Regions from separate parts of the Homo sapiens genome. Here region 2 is linked to region 1. The links are contacts of gene promoters, found by promoter capture Hi-C in blood cells and fetal thymus (Javierre and others, 2016). All regions are on one chromosome and are shown on one strand. The core of a region is centred on a gene start or on the middle of the fragment in contact, and the rest is flanking DNA. Distances in the headings are between cores, read along the strand shown. Region 1 holds the start of WDFY4 (WDFY family member 4). Region 2 overlaps ARHGAP22 (Rho GTPase activating protein 22).

Region 1 (7,395 bases), core at 1,905-4,404:
ATCTTCAGTCAACAAACTGGAGACCCAGAAGAGCCAATGGTGTAAGGTCCAGTCTGAGTTCAAAGGCCTGAGAATCAGAAGAGCCAGTGTTGTAAGTGTTCCAGTCCAAGGGCAGGAGATGACTGATGTTCCATCTCAAGGAGTCAAGCAGCCAAAGTGTCCTCTTACTCAGCCTTCTGTTCTATTCAGGTCTTCAACCGATTGGAAACCACCCATGCATATTAGGGAGAACAGTCTGCTTGACTCAGCCTACTGATTCGAATGTTCATCTCATCCAAAAATACCCTCACAGACATGCCCAGAATAATGTCTCGCCAAATGTTTGGGCACCTCATGGCCCAGTCAAGTTAACTCATAAAAGTAACTTATCACATGGAGCTATTTTATTTCAATTTTGAACTTGTTCCAACTTTATGGCTTTTATTCTAGGCTGTGGTTCTTACTTCTTCAGTGTGGAGTCTGAGCTTCAGAGTTTTATGGTTTTAAATTTCCTCTCATCATTACCTTCATGTTTAGCCTGCAGGAGGACTCCTCTGATTGGTGTTTCAAGTTTGGTCTGCGGATTGGGGAGGAAGGAATACAAGAGGGCAGCTCTGAGCTTGGTGGGGTGAGGGCTCTGAGGTGTAAAGTGAAGTCCCACAATGCTCAGCAAGGTCTCTCCACACTCCATGGGATGCGACTGCAACATTCCAAGCACTGCACATTCTCTGTTACCTCCTTCAGTGCTCGGCCTTGGGTCAGTTGACCTCTGCTGGGTCTCTTGGAGTCTCACCCTGTGCACACATAGGAATCCTTGGCCAAGGGCACACACAATGAGTTCCCACAAGGCACACTCTCCTCAGGAACCTGCCCTGAACATACCAGAGCCTTCAGCAGCTTTGAACTCTGACTTAAACCTTTTCAGTTCAGGGAGACTACTGTCTCTGGGGCCCCACCTGCCTGCATCATAGCAGAAAAAGCATCACTAGAAAAAACTCCAGGGCAATTGTGGGGCTCACCTTGTGTGTTTTCCTTATCTCAAGGATCACAGTCTTGCTATTCAATGCCTGAAAACAATTATCTTGTGTATTTGAACTATTCTATAGTTGCTTTCAATGGGAGGGTATGTCCTATACCAGTTACACCACCATAACTGGGTGCAGAAGTAAAACTGCCATTTTGGGGCAATTGTTTAAAAATCAGAGAATCTTACATTGCCCTTTAACAAAAATACACATTTACATTAGCAGTTCATAGTTGCCCTGGCTGCTTCAGTGTCTTAGCTTTGGCAACTCTCTCACTAATAATAGCTTGCATTTGCACAGCCCTTTTCAGTATTTAAAAACTCTCTTGGCCGGGTGCGCTGGCTTACGCCTGTAATCCCAGCACTCTGGGAGGCCGAGATGGGCGGATCACGAGGTCGGGAGATCGAGACCATCCTGTCTAACACGGTGAAACCCCGTCTCTACTAAAAATACAAAAAATTAGCCAGGCGAGGTGGTGGGCGCCTGTAGTCCCAGCTACTCAGGAGGCTGAGGCAGGAGAATGGCGTGAACCCCGGGGGGCGGAGCCTGCAGTGAGCCGAGATCGCGTCACTGCACTCCAGCCTGGGCGACAGCGAGACTCCGTCTCAAAAAAAAAAAACCTCTCTTGCAAATATTATTTGATTTGTTCCTTCTAACAAGGCATTCATTCATTCTGCAAATAAGATGTCAATTATCTCAGTTAAGATAGTGAGAATTTCAACCTTGAGTTTCTAGCTCTGAATTTAGTGCTCTTTACCTGCCTGCTGCTGGCTACCCGGCAAGGTGCTGGGGTGGGTAGAAGGTAGGAGACCTGGGTGCAGGTGGGCCCTCCAGCAGACTTTGCGAGATCCCACTATGACAGACTCTCCGCGCTTCCTCTGGGCATTCACAGGCATGGGGTCCTGGCCTGTCCCATGCTGGCCACCCTTCCTGCCTCTGTGGAAGTTCCTCTGTCTAATCCGCTCTTACCATAGGCCTCTGATTTCAGGCAATATCTTCTTGTAGATTTTATTTATGATTTCATTGGTGACAATGACGAGGGGTTTTCATCATATACAACAAACACTTCACTGCAAATTCTCTAAGGTTTTCTCTTTCCCTTGGCTGGCACTGCATGTATCCTTTCAATTTCTCTTTTCTTTTCTTTTTTTTCTTTTTTTTTTTTTTGAGACGGAGCTTCGCTCTTGCTGTCCAGACTGGAGTGCAGCTGGATAGATCTCCTATTTTGGCTGCTGTCTACTGACAAGTTTGCACTGGTGGAGGTTGAGGTTTTGTGACAAATGTTATTTTCCTCTTTAAACCAATCTTGGAGCTTTACTCCATGTCATAACAAGTGATGTTGTTGCTGCCTCTCAGTCAGTCATGCATGGTCCACTGGTTTTGTGAGCTAGAGACAAGCGATGAGCTGCACTGAGGATCAAGGATCAGGCATTAGCGCTAACAAGTGCCCTTGCTCTTTGGCAAAATTCTCCTTTTACAGAGCACAAGCAGGATTGTGTGTGAATGGACATGCTTGTTTGTACTGTGGAGATGACGTTATGGATAGGTGACATGGATAATTCAGCCTAGTTTATATACTCAGAGGAATGAGAATTTGGAGTCTGAGTTTCAGAGACTTCCATTCTATGGTTTTAGATGTCCTCTCATCCTTGCCTCAGTGTTGGCCGCAGGAGGACTCCCCTCATTGGTGGTTCAAGTTCTATCTGAGGATGGGGGAGGAAGAAATCCAAGTGGGCAACTCTGAGCTTGGTGGGGTGAGGGCTGCCCAACCCATGCCATGTCCAGGGGTGCACTTAAACACACCTCTGATTAGATTCACCTAACACCATCATTGTTCTCATTTTGCCAGAGGCCCAGAGAGGAGAGGTGTGCACCAGTGGTCACACGGCTAGTGAAGAGGGGACACAGAATCCAGACCTACTCTTCTAGGGCTGGGCTGTACTTTCCATTTTGTCCTTGGCCCCAACCAGCACCGCTTGACCACGGAGGCTGCACAGCCAGCCCCAAGGGGCCTTGCTGCAGAACCCAAGTCACCCGCCAGAACTCCAGCAGCTCCGTGGTCGGCTGGAGAGTGGGCAGAGTCAGGCATCTGCCGGCTCTCCACTTCTGCTTTCTCCAGGAAATGAGCAGAGACCCAGCTCCAGTGATTCAGAGTGAAACGGCGCTGAGGACTGACGATGTGGGGCCGGGTCCTCTTCCCCCGAGCCTGAGGGGCTGCAGCTGGGGATAGGGGGCCCATGCCTTCTGATGTCTACAGGCGCTGACGGCCACCCCTCCAGGTAGGCCACCTTGCTCTTGGCCCAGCCAGGCCAGCCTAGAGGTGGGCATATGGGCGCCGCCTGTCAGCGTGGGGCCTACTGGCTGCCTCCTGGGAGGCTGACTATGGGGCACATGTGACCCAGTGCCTGGTTTGGGTTTGTGAATGTGGGAGAGGAGGTGAGCTGGGGAGCAGGAAGTGTGTGTGGCGTGGGGGGCCCATGTGGTCAGGGCCACTCCAGGGCCTGGGTCTGCCTGAGTGTGTGTCACTGCTGAAGTTTGGGAGTCAGGCTGGGCTCCAGCAGCACTCCTCGACCTCTGACGGTAGGTCAAGTCCTTTCTCGGGGTCCTGCTATGAAGGGAACCCTGGGAAGGGCTGACACGGGCTTTCCTGGTTGTCGAGGGGGCGGAGAGAGCAGGCCGACAGGACAGTGAGGCTCGCCCTCCAAGCTCCCTCATAGGCCTCTGAGGAGTGCAGAGTTGGAGGGCCATTTCCAACGGGCCTCAGAGGGAGCTGGTCTATCCCGGCCCTGTCATTACTCCACTGGGTTCTGGTAAGTAGGTGCCTCCCTGGGCTCACTTCCCTCATCTGAATTATTACAGCAAACCATTGAAACGCCTGCATTTTCTGCCTAAGCAGGGCCACCTGCTCAGTAAGGACTGATTCTTCTTTTCCCCTGAAATGAAACTTCTAGAACACTAAACCGATCCTTTGTCCCAACTCATCTAAAGTGTGGGGGGGCTGGTTTGATAACTAAGGGCTCTATGCATTACCCTTTCCATGGAGCACACTAATTTTAATATGAGTTTATGTATAGTCATTCATTTAGTTATTTAACAAATAGGTATTGAGAAACCACGCCCTGCCAGGCTCTGGTCAAAGCGGACAGGGGTCTACGGTGCTCAGCAGGTGGGAGAATAGCAGGTAGGGTGGGGGTCTTGGGAGGGTGGGGATGGCTCTAGTCTTCTGAGAGGGGACCTGTGAGGGAGGCCGAGTCCTGTGGGTTTCTGAGAAGTGTTCTTGATAAGGGTCTGGAGGAGGAGACCTCGTGGAGGTTGGTGTGGCAGAGCCGGGTAAGGGGCATGCCTGGGGTTCTGGCCAGAGAGGTAGGGAACAGGGTCAGGTCAGGGAGGCCCTTCCTGTCTGTCCATCCTGAGCACATGGGCTATTCTTTCATGAACTTGGAAAGATTTTCTGTGTTGAAAGAAAAGAAAATTTCGGCCAGGCGCAGTGGTTCACGCCTGTAATCTCAGCACTTTGGGAGGCTGAGAGGGGCAGATCACCTGAGGTCAGGAGTTCAAGACCAGTCTGGACAACACGATGAAACTCCATCTCCAAAAAAAAAAAAAAAAAAGAAGGAAAGAAAAGAAAATTTAGAAAGACCATAATAAGATAGAAGTAATAAAAACAGCATAAACCCTGTGTGCTGACACCTTAGATTTTTTTAAAGATCAGCATCATCTCTGAGGTCCTCTTCATGCCCATCTTTCACCTTCCCTCTTCAGAAGCAGCAACAGTCCAGAATTTTGGGTTTATTGTTCCCTTGCTTCTTTTTCTAATTTTACATCCCATATTTAAATCGCTATATATGTATGATTGCAAGTTGTTGAACTCTGTAAACATGGAATTAAATATTCTTTTAAAATTTGCCTAATTGGTTCAAAAGTTTGTTTCTGAAATTTCTTCATATTGTTGCATGTACCTGTAGATAATTAAAGTTTTCTGCAGTACAGTATTCTATTAGATGAGTGTACCTCAATATATTTATCTGAGATGCTGTTGATGGCATTTTAGGTATTTCAAGAGTTTATTTTTTTTTCTATTATAAGCAGTGCCGCTAGAACTATTTTTGTACATGCATCTTGGGGCATGTGTGCAAGAATTTATCTTGGGTATATACTCTAGAAATAGAATTGGTGGGTCATAGGTTGTACATATCGTCAGCCTTACTGGATGTCACCACGTTGTTTTCCAAAGTTTTTGCCTCATTTTACCCACCCCTCAGCAATGCACCAAAGTTTCTGTTGCTCCACTTCTTCATCAGCATTTGATATTGTCTGGTACTGTATTTCTGCCAATCTGGTAGAAATGAAAAGCTATCTTAGCATGTTTTTAATTTGCATTGACCAAATTACTAAGGTTGGACATCTTTTTCATATGTTTATTGGCCATTTGGGGTCCCTTTTCCTGTTCACATTTTTTGGCCATTTCTCATCGGGTTACCTGTCTTTTATCCTATTGATTTGCCATAATTCAATACATATTCTGGGTACTACTTTTTGTCATTTATATATATAACAAATATTTTTCATTTGTTGGTGCCTTGTCTCCTTATATTCCTGTGGTTTTTATTAATGACTGAATTTCTTAGTTTCAAATAAGTTTATCCACCTGTCGCTTTATGATTTATACTTGTTATGTGTTATCTAAGAAATTCTCCACTATAAGGTTGTAAAATTATTCTCATATTATTTTCAAAAAATGTTATAATATTACTTTTTACACTGAAGTCTCTAGTCTGCCTGGAAATGGCTTTTGTGTATGGCGTGAGGTGGGAAGAAACTTTATTTTATTCTGCTTTTCCCATATGGATAACCAAGAGTCTTGGCACCATTTATTTAATAGGCCATTCTTTTTTTTTTTTTTTTTTTTTGAGATGGAGTCTTGCTCTGTCACCCAGGCTGGAGTGCAATGGCATGATCTTGGCTCACTGCAACCTCCACCTCCCAGGTTCAAGCAATTATCCTGCCTCAGCCTCCCTAGTAGCTGAGATTACAGGTACATGCCACCACACCTGGCTAATTTTTTTTTTTTTTTTTTGAGACAGATTCTTGTTCTGTCACCCAGGCTGGAGTGCGGTGGTGCGATCTCAGCTCACTGCAACCTCCACCTCCCAGGTTCAAGCGATTCCTCTGCCTCAGCCTCTCCAGTAGCTGGGACTACTGGCGTGCGCCACCACATCTGTCTAATTTTTGGGTTTTTTAGTAGGGATGGGGTTTCACTGTGTTGGTCAGGCTGGTCTTGAACTCCTGACCTCAGGTGATCCACCCACCTCGGCCTCCCAAAGTGCTGGGATTACAGGCATGAGCCACCACACCCGGCCTAATAGGCCATTCTTTAGTCACTGATCCATGATAGCTCTGTTGTGAGTTGAGTTGTCATGTGCATGGGGGTCTTTCCTGGTTCTCTATTCTGTCAATTTGTCTAACCCTTTGACAATGCTAGACAACATTGTTAACCACAGGTTTATAATAAATTTCGGTATCTGGAAAGAGCCTCCCCATTCTTTTCTTCTTCCATCCTGTCTTGAGAATTCTTGGTATTTTACTCATTCATATAAATTTCAGAATTGGCTTTCAACAGAAAAAAAAACTATGTTCAGATTTGACTGGAAATATAATTTGGAAAGAAGTGATATCTTTATGAAAATGACTTTTCCAATTCATAAACGTGGTCTGTCTCTCCACTTATTTAGGTCTTCTCTAAAGTATTTAAATACAATGTTACTATTTTCTTTATAGCAGTAGTGCATATTTTGACTAGACATATCCCTAAGTGGTTTATATTTTTATATTGTGTCAATTGTCATTAAAATACATTTTTGGACTGTTGCTATTTGGACTGATTCTTGTTCAAAATGCAAGCATTTTAAACAAGAATCATTTTAGGTGTCATGTGAAGATTGTAGGAGACCAAAGGAAGAAGCAAGACTATCAGTTCAGAGGCTTTTGCAATAACCCAGGCTAGAGGTGGTGGTGGCTTGCCCCAAAGTGATAATAGTTGAGATAATGACAGGTGGTCAGAGTGGTCAGATTCTAGATACTTTTTTGAGGGTAGGATTTGATGACATTTTAGGTATAGAGCATGGGAGAAAGAGAGAAGCTAAAGATGACTCCAGAGTAACAGGAAGAATGAGATTATCACCTACTGAGCTGGCTTGAGGGCAGTAGAAGCAGATTTGGAAGGTGGAAGTAGAAGCAGAAATATGAGTTTGGTCATACAAAGATGGAGATGCTTGTTAGACAATATGTGAAGAAATGAAGGCTTGGCCCCCTCCACCCCCACCCCAGTGAACTTCATGGTAGACAAGCAAGGCAGCTTGGCCAACTGGCAGAAAGAAGGAATATATCTTGT
Region 2 (7,395 bases), core at 2,450-4,949, 140 kb before region 1:
GGTGGGGTCAGGGGAGAAACTGTCCTGCCGTCTGCATATCGTACTTCACATGATGATTACAGCTGTCTTGCCAAGTAGGCAGTTTCCCTTCTACGATCAGATGATGAAAATGAAGCCCATGGGATTTAAGTTATTGGTCCAGGTTCTTTTATTGAGCAAATGGCAGAGCTCAAATGTGAATCTAGCTCTGTCTTACTCCAAGTCTGAGGCTCCCACCCCCTCCCCATCCCTGCCGTTCTTTCTTTGTTCATCCTTCCTTCTTTCTCTTTCTCCCCTTGCTTCTTTCATTTTTGCCTGTAGAGCACCTGTTCTATGCTGGTGTTCTCATCTAGGCCTGTGCTGTCCAATACGGTGCCACCACACATGTGGGTCCTGAGCATGTGAATGAAGCAGGTGTGCCTGAGCAATGGAATTGTCAATTTAATTTAATTTACATTAGTTTAAAAACTGACATTCAGTTCCATTGCTGAAAAACATTTAAGTATGTTTGGAATAACTTGGGTATGTGACTCTACTTTTCAATCATACATTTTATGAAATCTAAATGCCGATCAAAGATGGCTATAGTTAATTAATATATTACATAATTTCAAATAGGAGGACAGTGAATGCTCGCAACACAAATAAATGGTAAATGCTTGAGATGGTGGATATGCTAATCACCCTAATCTGATCACTGTACAATATATGTATCAAAACATCACTATGTACCCCATGAATATGTACAATTATTATGTGTCAATTTAAAAAATTAAAAAATTAGAATAAGTAAATATATATCAAGTACTTCCAGTGAAAATTTAGTGTCTGCATGGAAATGTGCTTTAAGTGTAAATACCAATTTAGACTTGGAAGCAAAAAAGAATGTGGAATATTTCACTAATGTTTATTTTGATTACATATTGAAATGATAGTATTTTGGAGCCAGTAGTTTAAATAAAAATACATTATTAAGAACAATTTCACTAGCTTTCTTTCCTTTTAGTTTTAAAAAAATTTTAAATTTTTAGTCCTTGTGAGTGTGTAGTAGGTGTATATATTTATGCAGATATTTTCACATGTGTACTCACTAGAAAATTTACAACCACAAACATGGCTTGCATTACATCTCTATAGAAGAGCGCTGCTCTAGGACACGATTTTGGCCAAAGGAATGATCCTGCTCAAGGGGACTCTTTCCAGGGAGCCTGCAGGAGTTTCCCACACCTGGTCCTGTGCTGAGCTGAGAGAAGTGAGGCTAAGACAGGAGAACCCCACTGCAAAGCCAGGAAGTGTAAGAGCCACTCCCATCTCAGGGGTGGGGATCACTGGCAAACTTCTCATCTAATTTCATTTCTGTCATTACCCATCATCTGGCGCTCTGCAGACAACCTCAGCAGGGGCTGCACGAGGTCAGGCCAAGACTCAGGCTGGCTGGTACCAGGTGCCGAGATAGGCCGGTATCAGCATCCTCCCCACTCAGGCGGCGGCTAATGTGATCAGGGATGCTCTGGGCATGTCAGACACACAGTATCTGTCTCCTCTGCGGAGTAATCTGTGCACACTGGCTCTCCTTCAAGGTCAGGCCTCCCTTTAAGACAGCAGGCAGCAGTCTCCTATCTGCTCCAAGGGCAGGCTGGATAAGGCCAGGCAGCTACAAGCTCCATGCCTGAGGGCGACTTCAATGACCTTGTGTAGCCATAAGACGGGCAGGAACTGGCTCCCTCTGGACAAACTTGGCTATAGAATGCCAGCTGGTGCCATTCTACTCGTTCAAGCAGACACGTCGGAGGTCACTGGGCCAGCCCTCTCGTCTTACACAGGGGGAAACTGAGATTCAGAGAAGGGAAGAAATCTAATCTGGTTGCCCTTGAGAGCTAGGGTCTGAGCTGAGTCTGGAAGCCACTTAAACAGGCCCCCAAGGCAGAGATGTTGTTAGTGATCAGGACTCCCTGGCTTGATCCTGGAGAACTTGACACATAAACTTGTAAATGCACGAAAGACTCAGGGCTCTGCTTTAAGCAGCCTGGCTTCTGCGCTGCCTCCCACAGGGGTCCCCGCTACTCCTGTGGCAGTGTGGTCTTTTCTGTCGACATTGCCAGGGTAGGGGTGGGGGCACAGAATAGACATTGGTGGAGATGAGCATCAGACATTACAGTTCTTGTAAGCCCCTCAGTTGGTCTACCCTGAGTGATCTTTCTAACACATAGTTTTTGTTTTATTTTTAAGGATTCAAATGTACTTTACTTTTTCCATAATGCCATATTTTAATGGGCACATGGAGCTTTTACTTGGCATCAATTATGATTTGTGTTTTAAACAATTCAGTATGACACCAGCTGGGATGATTACTGATCTCTCCATTCCGTTAGGGGTGACCCTGGCAACAGGGCACAGATTCCATCCAATTCCAATTGGTGTTGCAACATAGGTCCATACGGGCAGTAGAGAAAGAGGCTCCGCTAGCTAACATGGCATTACCATACCTGTCATGAAAATCATGTGTACATTTCTGGTGGCTCTGCCTTTCCATTGTTTGCTGAATGCTTTGAACTCTGAGGTTACTTACTGTGCCGTTGGCCAAGGGAAATCCTGAAGCTAAAGATAAAAGTGTCTCAGTCAGGGACACCTCTATCAGAGCACTCATCACACAGCATTGTGATGGGATTGGGTTGCTGTTATTAATCATAACGATTAATGATTAGAGAGCATGCAGGGAGGAGGGGAGCTTATCTAGACCAGGTACCTACTATGAGCCAGGATCTGGGTTCTCAGTGAATCCTCACCACAACCCAAGGTGCTTGGCAATATTCTCACCCCCAGTTTATGGGACATTGAGGCACGGAGCCCTCTGTGACTTGTCAAAACCCACACAGTCCCTGAGTAGCATGGCTATGCTCACATCCAGCTCTCCCTGACTCTGGCCTGGAGAGATGGGTGGTCTGGAACAGCACTGACTAGATGCTGTGAGGCCCTTGATGTCTGTTGAGAGTGTGTGGAAAATGGGCACAAACAGGAAGATGGCTCCCAGGCTTGCCTCCCCAGCTCTTCCTCGGAAGCTTCCTTTCTACATGCAGACACCAGCTTGCCTAGGCAACATCTGCATCCGCGTGTGGTGTGTCTGGCGACAATCAACCCCATGGCCCTGATTCCCATGGGACACAATGCTAGCTTTGCTACTACCATGGTCTCTGAAGACTGGTTGGAGCTGAAAACCCAAGACCTCAAAGCCATCCCTGTCCAGGCCTCCTATTGCCTGCAGGATTCCCATCTGGTGTTTGGGGAGTTGGGGGGGAGGCCCCAAGGAGCCCAGTGGGAGGGAAGGAGCATGGACCTCTGTGGGAGAGCAGAGAGCTTGCCAGGCCTCTGAATGGTACAGCTGGCCCCCGAGTCTCCTGACCCTGATCTTGAGAAATATGGGGCTCCCAGCCCAAAGCAGACAGGTGCTCCAGGATGGGGACTAGACCCAGGCCTCAGAGCAGCTGTGGTACCCTTCACCTCCTTCTGCACCAGAAAACAGAGCACTCTCCTCCTCCTCCTTTTCCTCAGATCCAGGGTGGCCATTCACGTCTTCCTCGGGCTAATCCTCAGCACTGCACACTCAGGTCCTTCCCCACAAGTAGGAATTGCTCCTGAGTGTGGGGGGCCATCGGCTCGGTGCAATGTTGTTGAAAAGGCATCCCGTCCTGGCCCCTTGTCTGGCACTTGGAAAGGGCAAGGCCAATGATGTGACACTCAGCCCTGCAGAAATACAGTCATGGACCATCTGGAGCAGTGAACATTTGACAGAGACTGGCTGTTTGTCTTCTACTCTCCCCTCTGGAAGGCACCCAAGTTCCTTTGGAGTCTCCTTGCCCCCACTAGGCGAAGTCTTGGGAGGGCTGGTCCAGATGCCAGAGTGGATAGGCCCTTCCTCACCACCCCAGTGTAGTCAGGGGTAGGCATGTAGCTTAAGCACAGATACTGAGACTTTGGGCTTTCGGCAAGTGAGCCATGCCGGGATTGCAGAGCCAGGCGAGATTCAACCTTCCCAGCACAGAGTACCACCCGCTCGCCCCTCCCAGCTCCTGGCCCCGTGACAGCCCAGCCGCTTGCCCCTTCCACAAGTGTCACTCCCATCACATCCTACCCCCTGGTTTCTGGTGAATTTCCCCTTTGCTAGAGTTAGCCAGAGCTGGCTTCTGCAACCTGCTCCAACCAGGACTCTTAATCTCCACTCCCCCGGCCCCACCCCATTTACGGTTACTCACTAGAAAGACTTATGGTTCTGGTCTCAAGCCTGCAGCCAACCCACTTGGTTCCCTTTGATAGCACCAACCCACTTGGTTCCCTTCAATAGCATTGTGCTAATTCCAGAAGACGGATTTTAGCAATGAGTTACAAAGCTTAACGGATGACCTAATTCATCTCACCAAACATGGCCGTTTTTTGGGGACAGGCCTGCTCTGGGATCTTAGCAACTCTTTTTGCCCAGAGTGCCAAAGCAGGCCTCTCCACTCCCCACCCGCTCCTTGTGGATTTAAAGGGAGGCCTAAACTTGGCCTGGGGCTGGATGCCCACATCAGCAAAAAGCCCAGGTCTGAGAGGCCCCCAGGATCAAGTCTGCAAGGAGCAGACAGCTTTCAAAGGGCTGGGAGGGGCAGGGTTTGCCAGGCAGCTGCCCTGGCAAGACAGAAGTACCAGGTGGGCAGGACCTGGGGGTCCTTGAGTCTCAGTCCCTTTGTGGGGCCTGGCTCCTTCATGCCTGCCCCGGGGGAGCTAGCCTCAGCAGGCTGAGGAAGAGCAGGGCTCTGGGGTTAGAGCTGGCTCAAGCTGCAGTTCCACCGCTCACCGGCCCTCGGATCCCAGCAAGTTACTTAGCTTGTCAGAGTCCCAGGGGCCTTGCCTGTTAGATGGGTTAGTAGAGGTTAGTCCCAGGAGTGTGGTGAGGATAAACGTGGTGTGCTCAGCTTCATTCCTTAGAAGGAACTCAGTGAATGTTTAGCCCACTAGCACTCATACACACCTTGGTCTACAACCTCAGGCACTCAACAAATATGATATTTGTTAGAAAGAATCATGTTAATTCTATCTCCAAGCCCTATGTTCCCAGGCTGGAAGGGAGCTGAGTCCCAGCTACTATTGAGATGGAGGGAAGGGGTCCTCTTTGCTGTGGTCAGGCTTACATGGGGCCTGGCAATGGGATGGGCTGTTCTTGGTCCCTCCTGGTCACCTGATGTCTTTACCTGCAGTCACTTGGGGCTGGAAGCTAGGTAGCTCTCCTGCCTTTCTTGACCATGGTGTGTCTGTCTGAGGCGGGACCCTGGTGTCTGGAGCCTGCTTTCCTGGTGGCACCATGCCTATCACCTTCCTGGGGCATTGCTGGGGGCAGGGTGACCAGTCTAGGGGAACGCCTCTTTCCCGACCCTGTCCACATCAATTATCTGGGGTGGGAGAGCAGGAGATTTCTGCTTTCTGCTGCAGAGACCTCACCTTCCCCTGAGGCAAGTGGCCTAGGGATTAAAAAGGGCCAGGAGATCAAAGCACAAACCAGCATCTTATACATTATACGGTCCTCCTCCTCTTGGAATAATAATTATTAGAATTAAAACATTGGTTATAGCTTTGCCTGCCCCCAATTAACTCAAACCTCCTCTCACTCAGTCCGCTTGTGAGGCCCATCTCATTCACCCTTCCAGGATTCTAAGTCCCCCACTATCTCTACACCAGGGGCAGCCTCTCCACCTTGGACCCTGAGCCCACTCAGCAGTGTTTTTTGCAAGCCCTCCAGATGAGGCGGAGGCTCACTAAAGCTTGAGAACCACTGCCCGACACCATTCTCCTGCCACAGAGGACAACTTTTCATTCTGGCAGAAAGCTTAACCTCCTGTTGCTTCCAATCCTTACATTAAATTCAGTTACCTATGTGCTGAGCGCCTTGGAACTAAGGTGTGAAGGAGACACACAGACCCCGTGCCCACTGTGCTTGCCCATTGCTGCTTCTGCCCAGCTGCTCTCCCTGATTCTTCACCTGGCTGACTCTCACTTAACCTTCAAAGAGCAGGGTCGTTGTCACTTTATCCTGGAAGTCCCATGCACTCCCTGCGTGCATTAGGGTCCCCTCCTCCAGGCTCACACAATTGCCTTTTTACTCTCCTCCTAGCCTTTCTCATCCTGTGAGTCAATGTCTGCCTTCCTGCCTGCTTCCTGAACTTGTTAATTCTGTGAGGGTAGGAAGGTGTCTTTCTTACTCCAAGGTAACAGATCATTATACAGAATGGCAGGACTACTGACTGTTCACCAAACCAGCCTTGCCTTCCTCCTGGAAAGAGGTGGACTCCATTTCCCAGACTCTCTTGCTCCGAGGTGTAGCCATGCAACTGCATTCTGGCCAATGGGCTGTGACGGGATGATGGGGCCACTTCCAGGCCTGGACCAACACATCTCCCAGGCATGATGGCCTCCTAGCATGGAAACAACTAGGATACTTTTGCAAGCCACAGGTTTCAGATGGCGAAACCATGAAATAGGAAGATGCTGGGAGATCAACTGCCTGCCAATCACAAGTGTTCATTTTTGACTTTATATGAAAGACAAATACATTCTTGTGTCAAGATCCTGAGATTTGGGGGTTATTCCAGCAGTTCACTTACCCTAATACAAAAAAGCTAAGCTCACTGGAGAATAAACATGAAATGGTTTTACTTTCCCAATAACTATGCCTATCACTTCCTACCTTCCCTTTGAGTCGTTGCTCACTTGGTGATTTTCCCAGGGTCCAGAGTGTGTGCCACTCTTAGTTATTCTAACAGTCTCATTAAGGATCTCTCCAATCCTTAATTCTGTTCCCTCACATCTGGTTCAAAGCTCTTTTTGTGCTGCTCCCCCAGCACTGTGGCCCTCACGGACTGGGGTGTGCTGGCATAGATAGGGGTTGCTTCTCCTAGACTCTTCCCTGAACTGCACCCTGGGCACTGGGGTGGGAAGGAGGCAGAGGGGAAATGTAGACCTTTCTTTGCTTGCCAGGCAAGGTTGCAGTTCCCTCCCTGGTGGACGGTGTTGTGAACTGGGGCAGGGGCACCCTCCCAACCAGCTCCTCTGGGCACTGGGGATCTGTTGTGCGTTCTGACCTCAAATCTCAGCTGACTTCCTGCAGGTGGCATCTTGCCTGTCTGCCCTGCACTATGAGAATTCTAGAAAGTCTGAGGGCCCATGTCATCCTCTTTTCTCCATCAGTGCCCAGGCCTGTGGTCCCACAGAGGCTTCACATTCTGCTCCTCTTGAGAACTGGATGCTTACGGCAGGAGGTGTGCCTGGCAGAACCCCATTTGCCATCAGTCCTCAGTCAGATTTTCCTTGCCTGGGTAACCATGAAAAGCAAATCTTGTGTGTAAGCAACTGTCCAAGCAAGACACAAATGCCAGTCACCCTTTCTCT

What was found. The method cuts DNA at HindIII sites, captures the fragments that hold promoters and counts their contacts. A CHiCAGO score of 5 or more calls a contact.
Region 2: a fragment that was not itself captured here is called in contact with the fragment with the promoter of WDFY4 in region 1 in 1 of 17 cell types (total B cells); the score reaches 7.8 in total B cells.

Annotation. Positions count from the first base shown.
Region 1 is chr10:48,681,719-48,689,113 of GRCh38, forward strand. It overlaps WDFY4 (WDFY family member 4), which reads left to right and starts at 3,155. Exons shown (of 62, transcript NM_001394531.1): 1 at 3,155-3,283. RefSeq lists enhancers at 2,077-2,156, 3,087-3,386, 3,405-3,945 and a silencer at 2,377-2,426. The HindIII fragment of the contact is 16,271 bases long and covers 1-7,395 here.
Region 2 is chr10:48,544,145-48,551,539 of GRCh38, forward strand. The region is part of intron 3 of ARHGAP22 (Rho GTPase activating protein 22); the gene reads right to left. Among named protein-coding and RNA genes, the nearest start is that of ARHGAP22-IT1, 36 kb to the left of the region's middle. The HindIII fragment of the contact is 1,326 bases long and covers 3,037-4,362 here.